Regions from separate parts of the Homo sapiens genome. Here region 1 is linked to region 2. The links are contacts of gene promoters, found by promoter capture Hi-C in human tissues and cell types (Jung and others, 2019). All regions are on one chromosome and are shown on one strand. Each heading gives the region's core, a stretch centred on a gene start or on the middle of the fragment in contact. The rest is flanking DNA. Distances are from core to core; before and after follow the strand shown. Region 1 overlaps MAEA (macrophage erythroblast attacher, E3 ubiquitin ligase). Region 2 holds the start of TMEM129 (transmembrane protein 129, E3 ubiquitin ligase).

What was found. The method cuts DNA at HindIII sites, captures the fragments that hold promoters and counts their contacts. A contact is called where the count stands out against the background at its distance.
Region 1: a fragment that was not itself captured here is called in contact with the fragment with the promoter of TMEM129 in region 2 in 1 of the 25 tissues and cell types used here (dorsolateral prefrontal cortex).

Annotation. Positions count from the first base shown.
Region 1 is chr4:1,335,597-1,340,256 of GRCh38, reverse strand. It overlaps MAEA (macrophage erythroblast attacher, E3 ubiquitin ligase), which reads right to left. Exons shown (of 9, transcript NM_001017405.3): 7 at 3,263-3,396; 8 at 1,640-1,835; 9 at 120-1,183. The coding sequence ends at 1,088. Among named protein-coding and RNA genes, the nearest start is that of UVSSA, 9.3 kb to the left of the region's middle. RefSeq lists an enhancer at 557-1,075. The HindIII fragment of the contact is 5,951 bases long and covers 317-4,660 here.
Region 2 is chr4:1,719,936-1,724,310 of GRCh38, reverse strand. TMEM129 (transmembrane protein 129, E3 ubiquitin ligase) reads left to right here and starts at 2,988. Exons shown (of 4, transcript NM_001127266.2): 1 at 2,988-3,678. The coding sequence starts at 3,474. It overlaps TACC3 (transforming acidic coiled-coil containing protein 3), which reads right to left and starts at 2,790. Exons shown (of 16, transcript NM_006342.3): 1 at 2,668-2,790; 2 at 728-890; 3 at 441-583. The coding sequence starts at 889. RefSeq lists enhancers at 1,960-2,955, 4,038-4,137 and silencers at 2,578-3,387, 3,398-3,447. The HindIII fragment of the contact is 14,879 bases long and covers 1-4,375 here.

The DNA.
Region 1 (4,660 bases), core at 2,043-4,542, 380 kb after region 2:
TCCCGGTGGCCGTGGTGCCAGAAGCTACGCATATGCCCGCCATGCTGCCCGGGCCCCGGGGAGGAGCAGAACACAACCTCGGTGTTAGAAACGCACGGCAGCCTCGGCTCACACGGAAATGAGAAATAGAAAACCATTTTATTCGCATGGTTTACATTTACAGTTTATTAGCTAGTCAACATCAACATGCAAAAATAAGCACTAACTACAAACCTCTACGATACGGTTCTCTGTCAGCTACGGTGGTTCATTTGTTTTGAAAAGTCATCAGTACTTCTTTCAACTGAACGATTAATTTCTGTAATGGATAGCAATTAGACTCTACAGTTATGGAACCATCCGGCAAGGCCTCTGCAGAAATTTGGTCCCGTGGATTTCCACGTTATACATTCTCGAAGCAGGAAGTAAGGCGGCACACAGAGGGTGTGATATCGAAACGACGCAGCTACGAACACAGCCCCGCGATGTGATATCGAAACTATGCACGTACGAACACAGTCCCGCGGACACGACCCGCGAGGCAGGCGGGCGTCCTCGAAGCCAGCCCCCGACGGTGGCGGCGCCAGGCGTTTTGGCAGCAGCTCTCGAATGAAGCCATAAGTGTCCCTCGTGGCGCGGCATCGCGGGTCACTGCAGGTCAGTCCGGTGCCGCTGCCACCTTCCCCGGCCAGGCCAGGGCCAACAGGAAGTGGTGAAGGACCAGCCCGTTCTCCAAGTCTCATCGTTCACAGAAGGAAAGAAACTGAAAACACAGGGAAATCACGGACTCCTATATTTTAAACGTTCTTAAGTTTCCCTCGGTGTTTAGGTCAGTCTTTAAAGAAGAGTTTCCTTCGCAAGTTGAAAGTACTTTTCAGAAGCATCAAATGGTTGACGTGTTACAAAATCCTACCAATCCAAATGTTTTCAAGTACAAACTTATGAAACCTTATTTTCTCTCTTCCTAAGAGTATTTATCGTTGCTCACGGATCTTTGGTCGCAAGAAACAGAAACGCCGCGGCAGGCTGGAGCGTGGGACAGGAGGAAGGCGTGGCCTCCCCGCCCACTGCAGCCCGTCCCCGAGGCGTGCGCTTCACGACGTGGGGCCTACATGATGTACACCTTCTCGGCTTGTGAGAAGTGGAAGACTTCTTTGGTTCTCGGGCACACGACTTTATCATCTTGACGGATAGAAAGCAGAGACTGAAAAATAAAACCGGGAATGCATTAAGGCAAGCGACTACAACGTACACACGGATTTCCATGGAAAATCCCCACAATGAACCACCAGGGAATGACTCATCCTCTCAGGCAAAGTTCCTTCCCGAAGGCACACCTGCCAAAGAAATCCCGGGGCCACCTCGCCTGTCCTTCCCACCCCTTCATCCATTTCGAACGAAGCTAAGGCAGGGTGGGGCGAGAGGACAGCCCTGTCCCAATGGCGACGTGTGCCAGCCTGGCCCCGCTGCCCTGCCCGCCCCACACAGCCCTGTCCCGATGGCGACGCGTGCCAGCCTGGCCCCCCGCCCTGCCCGTCCCACACAGCCCTGTCCCGATGGCGATGCGTGCCAGCCTGGCCCCCCTGCCCTGCCCGTCCCACACAGCCCTGTCCCGATGGCGATGCGTGCCAGCCTGGCCCCCCTGCCCTGCCCCCCTCACATTGTAGCCGTAGACGTAGCCGTTGGGCAGCATCATGGGCGGATTGTTCTCGTTCATCACGTCGCCAGAAATCTTGCAGACCAGGCGGGAGTTGGCACAGTGGGCCATGGGCAGGGGCTGCGCCAGCTTGTTCAGGGAGCGGCTGCACACAGGGCAGTCAGGGCTCTTGGAGCTGCCGTCCTCCTTGTAGCACTGTCTGAGCATCGGGTCAAGGAAGGGTTGGGGGCCACTCAGGGCAGCCGGGGTGAGCCCAGCCCCCTGTGGCCACTCTGCCCTGGGCTGCGTGCCCTTCTGGCTATGTGGGCGCCATGCTGACTACACGGGGCTGTCTTTCGAGGCACAGGAAGTGCTGCACTCGACAGCTAAACAGCCCCACTGAGGCCTCGGTGGAGACAAGAAGCCTGCGCCTTCTCACCCCGGCCTCCAGCACCAGGACCACAGGCACAGAGTGGCTCCGTCGCCCGCCGCCCTCTCCCCGGCCACGCAACCTCTCCAGGCAGGACAAGAGCCACCCAGCAGGGACGTTCTGCTGGCACCTAGGAACAGGCAGTGGGCAAGCACGCCAGCCCTCTCGCCCAGAGTTCCACAAAGAGGGGACAAGGGAGGGGGCCTGAGTCTCATTCATACCCCGGCACAGCCAGGTACCAGCAGCAATCGCGAAACACTCACTGCCCTCTGGGCCTGAGGCAGGTCACATGAAAGACATTCATAGGCGGGGACAGAGTCAGTTGCAGGAGGACAGTCAGTCACAGGTGGGGACAGAGTCAGTCACAGGTGGGGACAGAGTCAGTCACAGGAGAGGGCAGAGTCAGTCACAGGCAGGGGTAGAGTCAGTAAGAGGCTGAGTCACAGGCAGGACGGAGTCAGTCACAGGTGAGACAGTCACAGGGCAGGGGCAGAGTCAGTCACAGGCGAGGACAGAGTCACAGGCGGGATGGACTCAGTTGCAGGAAGGGACAGACTCAGTCGCAGGCAGGGGCAGAGTCTGTCACAGGCAGGAAGAAGTCAGTTGCAGGTGGGACAGAGTCAGTCACAGGAAGGAATCAGTCACAAACGGGACAGACTCAGTCACAGGCAGGGCCACAGTGAGTCGCAGGCAGGGACCAAGTCCGTTGCAGGCGGGAGCCGAGTGAGTCACAGGCAGGAACTCAGTGAGTCGCAGGTGGGACAGAGTCACAGGCAGGATGGAGTCAGTCACAGGCAGGGACAGAGTCACAGGCAGACAGAGTCGGTCACAGGTGGGACAGAGTCAGTCACAGGCGGGACAGAGTCAGTCACAGGCAAGGTTCTTGGTAATCACACGGGAAAACTATTCTGAATGGTAATCTGCCGGCTGCCAGAACACATCAAAATCGGGCTTTTAGATCAATGCCCATGGCGGCCTCTGAGATGATGAGAGAGGAAGCGCGCCACTTCCCAGAGTGAAGGCTGCACGACGCATCCGAGGCCCCTCAACACGGCCCCACCCCGACCATCCAGACACCACGCAAGTGCAGCACACGGGAGCTCGGGGCTGTCTGTGGTGGGAGGACAAGAGTGGCAAGGTGCAGGGTCAGCGTGTTAAAATATGACCAAAGATGCCAACCCCAGGCCAAACCGCACTGCGCACGGGAGGTAGGATACGGTGTCTTGATGGCTGAGAGGCCAGCCTGCAGGGTGAGGGTGAACACAGAATTGTTTCCCAGCTGGTGTAGTCGGTAGTTGTCGTACCGGAACTGCTGGATCAGCATCCGCCACCGTGCAGGGTCCAGAAGGTCCTGGAAGACAGAGAGCAGAGGGTCCTGGGGATGCTCCCAGGGAAGCTCCTGGGACAGCTTAAAAACGTGGACCATGGTGAAGCAGGTGCCATCGGCCCACAGCCATCCCCCAGTGACCCACACACTTTGCACTAAGGGTCAGCACAAAGCATAACTCCCTCAAGTGTTGACTGATACACACAGTGGGATGAGTGCTGACTTAACTATGATTTCAACATGCTGCGGGATGAGTGCTGACTTAACTCTGATTTCAACATGCTACAGGGTCAGTGCTGACTTAACTCTCTGATTTCAACACACTGCGAGGCCAGTATGAACTTAACTCTGATTTCAACATGCTGCGGGACAAGTGCTGACTTAACTCTGATTTCAACACACTGTGGGATGAGTGCTGACTTAACTCTGATTTTAACATGCTGTGGGGTGAGTGCTGACTTAACTCCGATTTCAACATGCTGTGGGGTGAGTGCTGACTTAACTCTGATTTCAACACACTGTCGGGGGAGTGCTGACTTCTCTGATTTCAAAATACTGTGGGGCCAGTTCTGACTTAAGTCTCTGATTTCAACACGCTGTGAGGCCAGTGCTGACTTAACGCTCTGATTTCAACACCTGCAGGACAAGGGCTGACTTAACTCTGATTTCAACACTCTGCGGGACGAGTGCTGGAACTCTCTGATTTCAACATGCTGCAAGGCCAGTGCTGATCTAACTCCCTGATTTCAACATGCTGCGGGATGAGTGCTGACTTAACTCTGATTTCAACACACTGCAGGGCAGGTGCTGACTTAACTCTGTGATTTCAACACACTGCAGGGCAGGTGCTGACTTAACTCTGTGATTTCAACACACTGCAGGGCAGGTGCTGACTTAACTCTGATTTCAACACACTGCAGGGCAGGTGCTGACTTAACTCTGTGATTTCAACACACTGCAGGGCAGGTGCTGACTTAACTCTGTGATTTCAACACACTGCAGGGCAGGTGCTGACTTAACTCTGATTTCAACACACTGCAGGGCAGGTGCTGACTTAACTCTGTGATTTCAACACACTGCAGGGCAGGTGCTGACTTAACTCTGTGATTTCAACACACTGCAGGGCAGGTGTTGACTTAACTCTGTGATTTCAACACACTGTGGGGCCAGTGCTGACTTAACTCTGTGGTTTCAACACGCCATGGGGCCAGTGCTGACTTAACTCTGTGATTTCAACACACTGTGGGGGCCAGAGCTGACTTAACTCTGTGGTTTCAACACGCCATGG
Region 2 (4,375 bases), core at 1,739-4,238:
ACACTCAGTGCAGATTTCAGGAGAAATCCAGCCAAGGCCGGCCGGGCGTGGTGGCTCACACCTGTAATCCCAGCACTTTGTGAGGCCAAGGCGGGCGCATCATGAGGTCAGGAGGAGATCAAGACCATCCTGGCTAACACGGTGAAACCCCTTCTTTACTAAAAATACAAAAAAATTAGCCGGGCGTGGTGGCAGGCGCCTGTAGTCCCAGCTACTTGGAAGGCTGAGGCAGGAGAATGGCATGAACCTGGGGGGCGGAGCTTGCAGTGAGCGGACATCGCGCCACTGCACTCCAGCGTGGGCAACAGAGCGAGACTCCATCTCAAACAAACAAACAAAAAATCCAGCCAAGGCCTGATAGAACAAGACAGCACTTTCCTGCAAGAACCATCGGACAGAGAGGGTGAAGCTCCAGCATGTCCAGCAGCACCAACACTTACTTCTCTTTCTGTGTCCAGACCGGGTGTGAGTTTTCCAGTCCAAGGGTGTCATCCTGAGTGAAAGGAGCCTCAAGTTTGCTGGCCATGCTAGGACTTAGAATCCTGTGCGTCTGTGGATCCCGCAGAGGTGTCTGAAAAGTCACCTGTTGCGGAGTGAGGAGGAGAGCACCTATTCATTAGTTCAAGCTGTTACAGCCACACCAGCAGTGTCCTGCAGCTCAGAGGTCACCAAGAAAGCAGGCCCTAGGGCAACCTGGCCAGCCACACACTGTACAGGTCACACTTACCTTCATAGCTTTGGCCAGGTTCTTGGGTGGCACATTTTCTTTCTGTGACACACGAAGAACAGACGATCTTCCGGTAACTTCTGGTGGCGAAAACAGGAAGTCGCAATTTTCTGTATTTTTTTCATTGCTGACATTTTTGTCGTTTAAGACCTGCAGACTCATTCTGGAAAAGCAGAACATGTTTGTGTCAGTGTGAGGGCAACACTACCACATTGTCCAGACACAGACGTGACAGCTGCTGCAAGGGGCACGACCACTTCCCACACAGGTGTGCTCATTGCTCTGGAACTCACACCTCCCACACGTGTCTCTTGGCAGAGAAAGCCTCAGACTGAGTCCCCATCTTGCTTCAGAGACTCACTCTCCAGCCTGGCAGGGGGAGCCATGGGCAGCACTGCTGCTTCCTGGGACCAAGAGCTAAAGGGCCTTCAGGCTGAGATGGTGAGAAAGAAAACCCAAGCCTGCATAATCTCTACTGCTGTATTACTATATCAAGCAGAAGTCAAGAGACGGAAAAGCCCGGGCCAATAAGAAACCCGGATGAGCCAGAGGAAGCCCTGGTCTCCCCACAGGCCTCTGCGTGTGACGTGAGGCAGGACCGGGCAGTAGAGGGCAGAAAAGCAGGACAGCGGCTCTGGTCTGCTCTCTCCCACCGGGCTAGGCAGCGGGACAAGACCAGGCTGAGAGGGTGAAGGCCCAGAGGAGGAGCTGGGAGACGATGCGCAAACAAGGGAAGCCCAGAGCTGAGCAACAGGTGCCAAGGAACTTCCACATCAGAGCCTCCAGTCAGTCCCAGGTTCCAGGGCTGCCCAGGTCCTCACGCCGGTCACCCACACACTTGCCACCCTTTCTGTCTACAGCGTTCCCAGTCTAGGGAATGACGTAGGGAAAAAGGCTGCCAGAGAGAACCGAGTGTCGACCAGGGCAGGAACCCCACAGGCACCTGGTGGTGGAGGGGGACCTGGGGAGGCTTTGATTTGAAGAAGAGCAAAGTTGGGGAGGGTCCTGGAGAAGAGAGAGGGGGCAGCCCCGGCAGGTCGGTGCTGCAGCTTGAGAAGCCCACTGTGGTGCTGTGTGTGGGTGGGGAGGTTAAGAGCAGAAGGGAAGCAGGGAAACCACAGGCTTCTGGAGCCCAAGGAGTAGATGCCAGACCAGACCCGGGCCTGGCCACTGGCACATATGGGACTTACGGACGACGCTTAGGTTTTCGCCCTGAATAACTGGGTACAGGGCAGGGGAAGGGGTGCTGGATCGCTGGGGGACCCGCAAGCCTCGAACTCAGGGAGAAAGTGACTCGGAGGAAGCCTTCTGGCGGCCTGGAGGAGCTCGGGAGAGCAGCAGACCCAGCCTTAGTCAGGAGGGGCCTTTACTGACTATGGAGGCCCGGGAGGGGCTCTGGGCAGAGAAGGGACCGGCCCCAGGCTGGTGCTTTGGTGCTACTCTGGTGCACAAGAGGGATGCGGTGCGGGGGGAAGGTGGAGCGGCGCAGCAGGTGCGGGGAAGCGGTAGGGGCCCAGGTGTCCGCCGCAGGCGGCCTAGATGGAGTTGGCCCCAGGACGGAGGCCGGAAGGGACCAAAGAACAACAGGAGGGTCCGCGTGCTGGGAGCCAACAAAGAGCCAAGGTGGGCGACCGAGAGACAGGAGAGGGTCGAGGAGAGCAAAGCACCTCGGGGCGCCCGCTCCGCCGTCGGTCTTGGCCCAGCTCTAGCCGCCCCTGGCCACCATCCAGGGGGCCCAGCCCGGCGGTCGGTCTAGGGCCGGGTCCCATGACAGGGCGCGGTACAGGTTCTGGCGGCGGCCCCAGGAGGAGCCGTGGGGGACGCTTCCCGGGGAAAGCGGCGGCCGGGGCGGGAGGGCGAGGGCCGAGGGCGGGGCGGGGCGGGACGGCCTCGCGCCCCCAGGACCCCAGCCTCCCCGCGCCGTGTAGCCGCTCTCCTACCTGCCCGCCCGCCCGTTGCCGGGCTCTGAGCCCGCGCCGCCGCCGCCAGGAAGGAGGGGTCCGCGTCTGCTCCACGCCGGGGGCCAAGCCTAGCTGCTACCGCCGTCGCGCTTCTAGCCCTTGATGGCCGCCGGCGCGCCGGAGTTTCAAACGCCGACGGTTGCCTTCGCGCGGCCAATCAGCGCGCGGCCGGGGGCAGGACCGCAGGAGGGCGGGCGTCCAATGGGAAGCTGTGCCTCGCCGGCTCCGCCCTCCCTCCCCCCCCACCCCCCGCTCGGGCGCCGACGGTTCCGTTTCCGGAGTGGAGGGCACGCCAGGGTGTCTGAAGCTGAGACCCCGGGCTCGCAGTCGCCCCATGAATTTCGAGTTCCGCAACTGACGCTACTGGGCGGGGCTTCATGGCCAGGGCCTCGCTCAGGCCTAAGTTTCCCCACCTGTGCTCAATGCACAGGTGCGGTGCCGCCTCCAGGGCCGGCCGAGAAGAGAGGCCGCACCCGCACGGGGACTGCATCTCCCAGAGCGCCCCGCGAGCGGCCGAGCGGCGGGACTCCATGCCCTAGAGTGCCCCGCGGGCGGCCGGGCGGCGGGACTCCATGTCCTAGAGTGCCCCGCGGGCGGCCGGGCGGCGGGACTCCATGTCCTAGAGTGCCCCGCGGGCGGCCGGGCGGCGGGACTCCATGTCCTAGAGTGCCCCGCGGGCGGCCGGGCGGCGGCCGCCGCAACCGACAGGTCCGGGACTGGGCGCTGCGGCCTCGTCCGCGCGCCGGGGCGGGGGCCTAGCTCGACAGCTTCCCGGCGGCTGCGCGATGGACAGCCCCGAGGTGACCTTCACTCTCGCCTATCTGGTGTTCGCCGTGTGCTTCGTGTTCACGCCCAACGAGTTCCACGCGGCGGGGCTCACGGTGCAGAACCTGCTGTCGGGCTGGCTGGGCAGCGAGGACGCCGCCTTCGTGCCCTTCCACTTGCGCCGCACGGCCGCCACGCTGTTGTGCCACTCGCTGCTGCCGCTCGGTGAGGCTGCTCGGGCCGGCCGGCCGCATCCTCTCCTGCGCAGGGCTTGCTGGGAGGTCAGGAGGAGGCCTCCGCCAGCTCCCCGAGGCCCCGAAAGCGCCTGGGCGCAGCTGGGGAGAGGCGCCGGTCCTCATCCAGAGGGACCGCGGCGTGGGCTGAGCGCGCTTAGGGGCGCCGCCGGCACTGACTTGCAGGTGACGGGAACCCAAGTTCAGAACCTTGGGCAAGGGATGCTCCGGCCCACCAAGTCCTGAACCGTCACGTGCCTGGGGGTTGCAAGGCCAAGCAGCCCTTGCTTGTCGTGGTTGGGGGCAGTGGCCAGGAGAAGGCAACTGTTGATTGAGTCCAACGGAAGGGGTCGGAGGGGCTGTGTGGAGGGTGGCACTGCACTAGGCCTTGGAAGGTGGGTGTGGAGAGAACAGGCGGATTTGGAGGCAGTTCCAGTTTGGGGGCGCCACAGGGGCAGAGGCTGGGGAGGGCCTCTGTGCAGTGCAGGTGGGACGCTCAGAGTTGTCCAGGGGGGTGCTGGGCTGGGCCCCAGGTGCTAGCTGGGGCTCTGGAAGGTCCCTCTCTCAGCTGATTGGATGACGGACAGGTGGGAGGTGGGGTGTGCAGTGGCTGGAGGGGGATTTCAAGGGGGTACCTCTGGAGGACACGGGGGCAGACGCAGCCCTGGGAGGACAGATGGCCAGTGGCT